Regions from separate parts of the Homo sapiens genome. Here region 1 is linked to region 2. The links are contacts of gene promoters, found by promoter capture Hi-C in human tissues and cell types (Jung and others, 2019). All regions are on one chromosome and are shown on one strand. Each heading gives the region's core, a stretch centred on a gene start or on the middle of the fragment in contact. The rest is flanking DNA. Distances are from core to core; before and after follow the strand shown. Region 1 overlaps TSNAXIP1 (translin associated factor X interacting protein 1). Region 2 holds the start of LCAT (lecithin-cholesterol acyltransferase).

Region 1 (4,553 bases), core at 1,618-4,117, 120 kb before region 2:
CTCCCTGCAGACTGGTCAGTTCTCCATGGGTGGGCACCTGTCCCCATGGCCCACATACACCAGTGGCCAGACCATTTTGCAAAATCGAAAACCCTGTTCAGATGACTACCGGAAGCGAGTAGGGTAAGCCAGGGTCAGTCCCATGGTGGGTGAGCTGGCATGGGCCAGGCTTTGGGCCAGGAGACAGGGCAGGGGCGTGTGTTGCCCCAGACTGAGGGCACAAGGGCCCCGTGGGGGTGCTGGCCACATATCAGCCACTGTCCCCTGCAGGAGCTGCCAGCAGCACCCCTTTCGCACTGCCAAGCCCCAGTACTTGGAGGAACTGGAAAACTACCTACGCAAGGAGCTCCTCCTGCTGGACCTGGGCACAGATTCCACCCAGGAACTAAGGCTGCAGGTCAGAGCCACAGAAGAAACTTGGGGAGGGCGGGGGAAGGGTGGGAAGAAGCTTCACCTACCGGCCGGGCACAGTGGCTCACGCCTGTAATCTCAGCACTTTGGGAGGCCAAGGCGGGTGGACCACCTGAGGTCAGGAGTTCAAGACCAGCCTGGCCAACATGGCGAAACCCCGTCTCTACTAAAAGTACAAAAATTAGCCAGGCATGGTAGTGGGCACCTGTAGTCCCAGCTACTCAGGAGGCTGAGGCAGGAGAATCGCTTGAACCCTGAACCCGGGAGGCAGCGGTTGCAGTGAGACAAGATCACACCACTGCACTCCAACCTGGGCGACAAGAGTGAGACTCCGTCTCAAAAACAAAAAAAAGCCTCACCTACAAGGACTGAGCACCTCAGACCTTCAGGGGAGACCCACCTCTCCCAGCTCTCCTGGGTCTCCTTCCCTGAACAGAAGCATGAAACATCCCATGAAAATGCCAGTGAGGCCGGGCACAGTGGCTCATGCCTGTAATCCCAGCACTTCGGGAGGCTGAGGCAGGAGGATCGCTTGAGGTCAGGAGTTCAAGACCAGCCTGGTCAACATGGTGAAACCCTGCCTCTACTAAAAATACAAAACCTGCAGTGGTGGTACACACCTGTAGTCCCAGCTACTCAGGAGGCTGAGGCAGGAGAATTGCTTGAACCCAGGCGGCAGAGGTTGCAGTGAGCCGAGATCATGCCACTGCACTACAGCCTGGGCAACAGAGTGAGACTCTGTCAACAGAAAAAAGAAGGCCAGGCACGGTGGCTCACACCTGTAATCCCAGCAGTTTGGGAGGCCGAGGCAGGCGGATCACCAGGTCAGGAGATCGAGACCATCCTGGCTAACATGGTGAAACCCCGTCTCTACTAAAAATACAAAAAAATTAGCCAGGTGTGGTGGCAGGCACCTGTAGTCCCAGCTGCTCGGGAGGCTGAGGCAGGAGAATGGCATGAACCTGGGAGGCGGAGCTTGCAGTGAGCCAAGTTCACGCCACTGCACTCCAGCCTGGGCAACAGAGTGAGACTCCATCTCAAAAAAAAAAAAAAAAAAAGAAAACGCCAGTGAGCAGGCAAGGCTGCAATGTGGATCCAAAAGTCTCCTGAGGCTGGAGTTTCCTCACCTGAGTCAGGTGGCCTGGATGCTGTGCCCAGTCCCTGCAGCTCTGTGATCCCCAGTACCCAGGTTGGGCCACTGGACATCAGTGAACGTAGCCTGAATGCTGGCAGTTGGGCAAGCAGGGGTCACACCGTGTTTACCAGTCCAGTGGCAACAACCCCAAGCTTAAGGAACCAGCACAGATGCATAAGGAGGGAGGGAGGAAGAGAGAGAGAGAGAGAGAGAGAGATCAGATCCAACCCAGATACCAGTGTATAGTAGGGAGAGAATCACCAAATCTGCTTAAACAAGGATGATGACAGAGAATCCCTGCCTTTTGACTTAGTCATTGACTAAAGCATTTACTGAGCACTGGCTATGTGCAAGTGCAAGGCCCTGGGCTGGGGCCTTACATCGATCTCCTGAACAGATAAGGAAGAAAGCATACCACTATGGCGTAGTGGGGCTGGGCTTCAAACTCAGGGCTGACTCTGGAGACTGTGCTCATTTCAGTGAGCAATGCTGCCTCCAGAAACCTCCCATGTGTCCAAATGGGACAGAAGACCACACCCCTACTTGCATGTCAGGATGCAAGGGTACAACCTTCAATCTCCTGAATCTACCAGGCTCTAAGATGGGGAGAGGTTACAAGTGAGAGGCCAATGATGCAGTGTCTAGAAGGCAAGAGGCTGGCTGCCTGGAGAGCCAGAGAGGGGCTCAGGCACAGAGTGGATGTCTGTCTATGGTCATGGCAGTCCACTAGGCCTCAGAGACAGCATCAGGACAGGCCTCCAGAGAGCTGCCCCCCAGGCTCCGTGGCACTGTGAGGTACCCGGGTGGTATCTAGGGCATTTACTTGAATATAAGTGACCTGGCAGCCTCATGCTGGAATACTGCTAAGCCCAGTAAAGAAAAAAACAGTGCCAGGCACAGTGGCTCACACCTGTAATCCCAGCACTCTGGGAGGCCGAGGTGGGTGGATCACGAGGTCAGGAGATCGAGACCATCCAGGCCAACATGGTGAAACCTCATCTCTACTAAAAATACAAAAATTAGCCAGGTGTGGTGGCGCGTGCCTGTAATCCCAGCTACTCAGGAGGCTGAGGCAGGAGAATCACTTGAACCTGGGAGGCAGAGGTTGCAGTGAGCTGAGATTGCACCACAGCACTCCAGCCTGGGTGATGGAGCGACACTCCGTCTCAGGAAAAAAGAAAAAGAAAAACAGTTCCCCACTAAGGTTGGCAGCTGTGGGCTAGGAGATGATGGGTTCCCTTTTCTTGCCAGCCTTACAGAGAGATCTTTGAGTTCTTCATAGAGGACTTCAAAACGTACAAGCCATTACTATCCTCCATCAAGAATGCGTATGAGGGGATGCTGGGTAAGAATGCACCTCCTGCCAGGCGTAGTGGCTCACGCCTGTAATCCCAGCACTTTAGGAGGCCGAGGCGGTAGATCACTTGAGGTCAGGAGTTTGAGACCAGCCTGGCCAACATGGTGAAACCCTGTCTCTAGTAAAAACACAAAAAAATTAGCTGCGCATGGTGGCACACACCTGTAATCCCAGCTACTTGGGAGACTGAGGCAGGAGAATTGCTTGAACCTAGGAGGTGGAGGTTGCAGTGAGTTGAGATCACACCACCGCACTCCAGCCTGGGCAAAAGAACAAGACTCCATCGCAAAAAAAAAAAAAAAAAAAGAATGCAGCTCCCCTCCTTGTCCCAGCCTGGAAGGGGTGGAGAAGATCCTATTCGACCTTCTGGTGCTCCACAGCAGGGCTGGGGCAGCTACCAACTGGGCCTTGAGGTCACCAAGGCCCCTCAGCCATTCTGCACAGACTGTTCCATGATAGGGCACCCCAGAGCACCTGACAACACCTGTCATTGAGAAGCACAGGGGGGCAGTCCCTGTTGAAAATGGAGTGAACCCCAGGAGAGAGTCAGCACCTCTGGGAGTCAGCAGGCTCCCCTGCCAGGCTCAGGAGGTGCAGGGCATGGTGCAGCTGCAGGACTTAAGGCTGTAGGGGAAAGGACATAGGAGAGACCCCGGTCTTCATCTGAACTCTGCCCTTTGTTTAAAATCAAGTGCAGGAAGGCCTGAAACAGGGACCATGGCTTTGAACAAGGCATGCAGAGATTCTTGGGGTTTGCAAGCGACATAGCCACTCACCCATGACCTTAGGGTGTCTTCTGGCTGTTTGTTCTCCATGGCCCCAAAGCAGCTCTCCCACCTGTCTCTGCTTAGCCCACCAAAGGGAGAAGATTCGGGCTCTGGAGCCCCTGAAGGCCAAGCTTGTCACTGTGAATGAGGACTGCAATGAGAGGATCCTGGCCATGAGAGCTGAGGAGAAATATGAAATCTCCCTGCTCAAGAAAGAGAAGATGAACTTGCTAAAACTCATCGACAAAAAGAATGAGGAGAAGATTTCATTGCAGAGCGAGGTGAATGGAAGTGGTGTGATGATGACCAAGTCCCCGAATTCCTGCCAACTCCACGACAAGGGTGACCCCCTACCCTGCTCTGCCTTTCTACGGAGAGTGACACACTGAGCCACCACCTTCCCCCAGAGCCTTGCTAACTCCACCCTCTGCCCTGCTGCTAGGCTCAGTACTTTCCCCACAGGGGGAAACATTGGCACCTTGCCGAATTCTCAGAAATGGCCAATCTCCTTCTTCTTTCACCTTTCCTGTTCACAGTCCCTGATGGGGCCCCCCAGAACCCAGCCCACTCCCTGGGGTGACCAGCTGCATACAGGGGTCCAGGGGCAGCCCCTGACCACACAGCCACCTTCTTGCCAGGTGACCAAACTGAGGAAGAACTTGGCTGAGGAGTACCTGCACTACCTCAGTGAGCGAGATGCCTGTAAGATCCTCATCGCAGACCTGAATGAGCTGCGGTACCAGCGGGAGGACATGTCATTAGCCCAGTCGCCAGGTAAGCCTGAATTGGGAATCGGGTTTCTCTCTTCTCTGAGACGCTGGAAGACTCTGGTCTCACCCCTAAGCCCCATTCATTCAGCATTCCTAAGACCTGCTCATTCCAT
Region 2 (4,011 bases), core at 1-2,500:
TGCTGCTGTCCAGGTACTCCACAGAGTAGGTCTTGCCAAAGCCAGGGACGCGGATCTGGACACCAGGGGCGTTGGACACGAGCCCAGAGCTCCGGTTGTAGACAACCCTGCGGGGCGGGGGTGCCACTCAGCAGCCAGTAGCCAAGGGGCAGCGTGTTGGGGCTAGGGTGGAGCACATGGCTGTACCTGGTGTTATCGATCCAGCAGTCTACCCCAAGGGGTAGGAACATGTTGAGATCCAGCCAGATGGTGAAGAAGTCCTCTGTCTTGCGGTAGCACATCCAGTTCACCACATCTGGTTTGTCCAGCTTGGCTTCTAGCTGATTCCCCAGGCAGCCGGGCACTGTGAGCAGCAGCCCTCACTCTGGACTCTGGATTCCCCCCGTGACCCTTACCCCCGTCACCCCAGATGCTGCAGTGACCAGACCCACCCCCCACCTCCCATACCCTCAACCCCCAGGTACAAAGCACACTTACCCTCCCCTGCTTACACCCCCTCTCCCTGCTGTCCCCCCAGTAGCCAAAGCCCAGGCTTCCCTGAGGAAGGGAAGGCGCTGAGGTGCTGAGGCCAAGGCCGCTGACCCCTGCCTCTGCAGAGCAAACACCCAGTCTGGCGCTCCTTTATTGCCAAAGTCCAAGGTGGGAACAGATAGGTCTGGGGGCATGGGGGCTGGGCCTAATAGGGGCCGGGCATGGATGGGCCTCTCCTGCTCACCGATCCTGGGCTGGGCATCTTGTCCTTGGTGGGTGGGGGCCAAGGAAGGAGTGGTGGGGCTTGGCCCAGAGTCTGGTGTGGCTGTGACTGACCACAGCTTGTGATGCCCCAGCCAAGACCTCAGGCACACCCCGTCCCCCACTCCGCCCCCCCTGGGTTAGACAACTGAGAGTCACAGTGTGGTGGGAGAAGGGACGTCATTCCTCTAAGGGACAAGCTTTTGGCCCCTCCCCACACCAGGGCAGGTACTTATGTCGGGGCTTATGCAGGGCAGAAGGGCTTTGGCCAGGTCAGCTGCCAGGGGCTGGGGCCCAGGCTCCCCAGGGTCTGGCGTGGTGCATCAGGGGCCTGGTGGGGGCTTACCGAGGATGACGGGCCGTGTGTGGTTACTGAGCTCAGCCTTGGGCGTGGTGTGCGGGGGGAAGAGCACATTGAGGAGCCAGAAGGGGGCGGCAGGAGGGAGCAGCAGCCCCAGCAGCAGCGTCACCCACTGCCATGGGGAGCCGGGCGGCCCCATTCCAGCCCTGGTGCCTACTGCCAGAGAAAGCGGCACTGGGCTGTCCTTATCTGGTGTGGGAGTGGGAGGGGCCCTAGGGCCAGTGGGAGGGACGGCCTGGCCAGTGGGGGTTGTGGCCAGAGATTGCCGGAAAGGGGCACAGCCTCAGGGAGCCGGCTCTGGGCCTGGGTTCAGTTCCGCCTTCTTCTCTTGGCGCCAGGGGAAACAGAGCCGGGGCAGCAGGAGGCCCAGAACTACACAATGTTTTATTGAAAAAGTCAGGCCTCAGCTCAGCTGTCTCCATTCGGCTCAGCTTGGTGGGGGGCCCTGCCCATAGTAGACTGAGCCAGATCTTCCTGCAGGCAGCTGGGCTGGACTCCCTCCCTGGCTACCCTTCCCTTCGTCTCTGATGGTGACATCCAAACAATAAATATGCAATAAATAGCGCTCCTGGGCTGGGCCGGGCCGGCTGCCTTCAAACCCCACTCGGCCCCTACCAGTCTTCTCTGGCCAGGACAGGCCTACTGGGGTGCTAGATAGTAAAGTCCCCAAACATCCCAGGGTCCCACAAGACCTGGGATCCATCTCCATTTTGAGGCCCAGGCCTGGTTTCCAAGGAGACCTAGCAAAGCTGGGTCCAGGACAGGGCCAGGCAAGCAGGGCTGGCAGGTGGGTGCTGGGAAGAGGCTGTTACCCCAGACCACAGCTTGTTATGTCCTGGCCAAGACCTCGACTCCAGGCCACAAGATGACACTGGGCTCAGGAGTAGATGGTGATGACTTCACGGCCACCACCGCGCACCAACAGCACCCGCTCAAGGCCCTCGGTCAGCACCTCGAGGAACTCCATGTCTGCAGGGCCTCAAGTCAAGGAGGCAACAACAGAATCAACGGGCAACCCGGGCCACCTGGGCCATGCCCACCCAGGGGTGCCCAGGAGAGAAGCCGCTGGCTTGACCTCCCATGCTATCCACCTCCCAACTGCCTGCCTCTCCACAAAGGGATACAGTTCTCGTCGCCCTCACTGTTCCTGGGTGGGCCAGGCATGTTTAGGAGAACCAGGCGGGCGTCGTGGGAGCGCGTGACAATGACTTCATTGAGCTTCACAGCAGTGTGCATGCGCCGCACATTGGATTGGTCCCTACACGTAGTGTAGCCAGTCACAGGTCGCCATGAGCCATCCTGCAAGGAGGGTCCCCACCCCTGGCCCATCTAACACTACTTGTCTGCCCCACCCCACCTCCACCCCTAGATTCCAGTGCCGCTGGGGCTGTTTTTGCTGCACTCACGGCTTAATGTGCACCAGCTCCCGGAAATTGTCAGGGGCATGGCTGGGGTCCCAGGTCTCAGTCATGTACTTGTCCCTGGTCCACGTCATCTGGATCTTGTCAGCCCCCACTGCAGACTCATCTTCCTCGTCCGAGTACAGGCTCTCCAGCCGCAGGGCCGAGTGCCGATCCTTGACCAGCTGGGCCTGAGGACAATTGCAGGAGATAGCCTTGGTCCCATAGGAAAAGGGGGATGGGGCCTGTCTGGCCCAATGTGACCACCTTGCCTCCGGGAAATGAGCACTAGCTTGGGTAGGGCTGCGGTGAGTCATTCTGATTCCTCCGCACCCACCGATGCGGTCTCCAAAGGCCTGACCCTGCCACCCGCCCTGGCGTGAACCACAAAGGGCACTGACTTCTCGCTCCCGCTCAGTCTTGGTCAGTCTCATCTGCCGCAGCATCTGCGACCGCTGCTCCATCATCAGCGTCCGCTCGTAGGTGTATGCAGAGATGTCACTGTTATGCTGGGGACAGGGTTGGCCGTGAGGACCCAGCTGCACGGGACATGGTATCCACGGGGCCAGGGCAGGGCAGAGGGCTCACCATCTCCACCACCTCCACCTCGGCCTCAAGGCGCAGATGGTACAGAAAGACAGCCAGGTCCTTCTTCATCTGGATGCTGTTGTCATCCATCTGGGCCACTGTGAAGATGCGCATCCGGCACTTCCTCCAGACCTGAGGCAAGGGACCAGGTGGGCGGTTTGGTCACAGCTGCTCCTCCAAGGGCCTAGCCCCTCTCATCTGCACCCACCCCCTGGTCTACCTTATGCTGGCGCAGCAGGAAGGGCAGAAGCATGAGCATGCCACCATCGTGCACGATCCACCACACGTCTATGTGGCCCTCCAGGTAGCGCTCGTGGTTGCTGGGGTAGAAGGCGATGTTCTTGGGCACGAGCAGGGCCAGGTGGGCAGCCGTAGTGCAGCGCACGGTGTCTGGGGAGGAGGAGCACGGCTGACCACCAGTCTGTGGCCCTCCGCCCACTGCCACCTCACTTCACCCCTGCCCACCAGGCCCCAGGCCTTCACACACCAATGAAGGTCTTCCAGGCACGGGGGTCCTCGCTCTGTCGCCAGCCGTAGGGCCAGCCCAGCACCACGGAGTTATGCCGCATGCCTCCCAGGCCACAGGACTGGATGAGGTGGGCCAGCCCCTCCCGCACCTTGCTGGCCACCACCACCTGGCAGAAGCCCTTCACCTTCTCAATTTCCATCATGTTCTTGATGGTCTGTGGGGAACACACCCAGGGCCAATGGGAGGCCATCAGCTTCCTGCCTCTGGGCTCCCTCCCAAGGCCCCTCGGGAACAAAACGACTTTTGGGTGGAGGAGGGCCTGGGGGCAACAAGCTGCCTACCCAGAGGCCAAGTTTTCAAGATGGGACTGCTGGCTCCCCCTTGTGCCAGCTCTCAGGTGGCAGCAGTGCTGGCTGCCTGGCTGGCCACCCTGGCCAAGACTGGGCCCTCCCCTCCGTGCC

What was found. Contacts are between HindIII fragments. The study calls those that stand out against the background at their distance.
Region 1: a contact is called between a fragment that was not itself captured here and the fragment with the promoter of LCAT in region 2, in 2 of the 25 tissues and cell types used here (small bowel and spleen).

Annotation. Positions count from the first base shown.
Region 1 is chr16:67,820,829-67,825,381 of GRCh38, forward strand. TSNAXIP1 (translin associated factor X interacting protein 1) reads left to right here. Exons shown (of 16, transcript NM_001288990.3): 3 at 11-123; 4 at 271-397; 5 at 2,798-2,891; 6 at 3,755-3,951; 7 at 4,309-4,444. Among named protein-coding and RNA genes, the nearest start is that of TSNAXIP1, 16 kb to the left of the region's middle. The HindIII fragment of the contact is 3,588 bases long and covers 1,074-4,553 here.
Region 2 is chr16:67,942,870-67,946,880 of GRCh38, forward strand. LCAT (lecithin-cholesterol acyltransferase) reads right to left here and starts at 1,251. Exons shown (of 6, transcript NM_000229.2): 1 at 1,079-1,251; 2 at 187-343; 3 at 1-107. The coding sequence starts at 1,232. SLC12A4 (solute carrier family 12 member 4) reads right to left here. Exons shown (of 24, transcript NM_005072.5): 18 at 3,569-3,764; 19 at 3,302-3,471; 20 at 3,082-3,213; 21 at 2,895-3,002; 22 at 2,500-2,684; 23 at 2,218-2,351; 24 at 605-2,062. The coding sequence ends at 1,971. RefSeq lists an enhancer at 1-382. The HindIII fragment of the contact is 35,269 bases long and covers 1-4,011 here.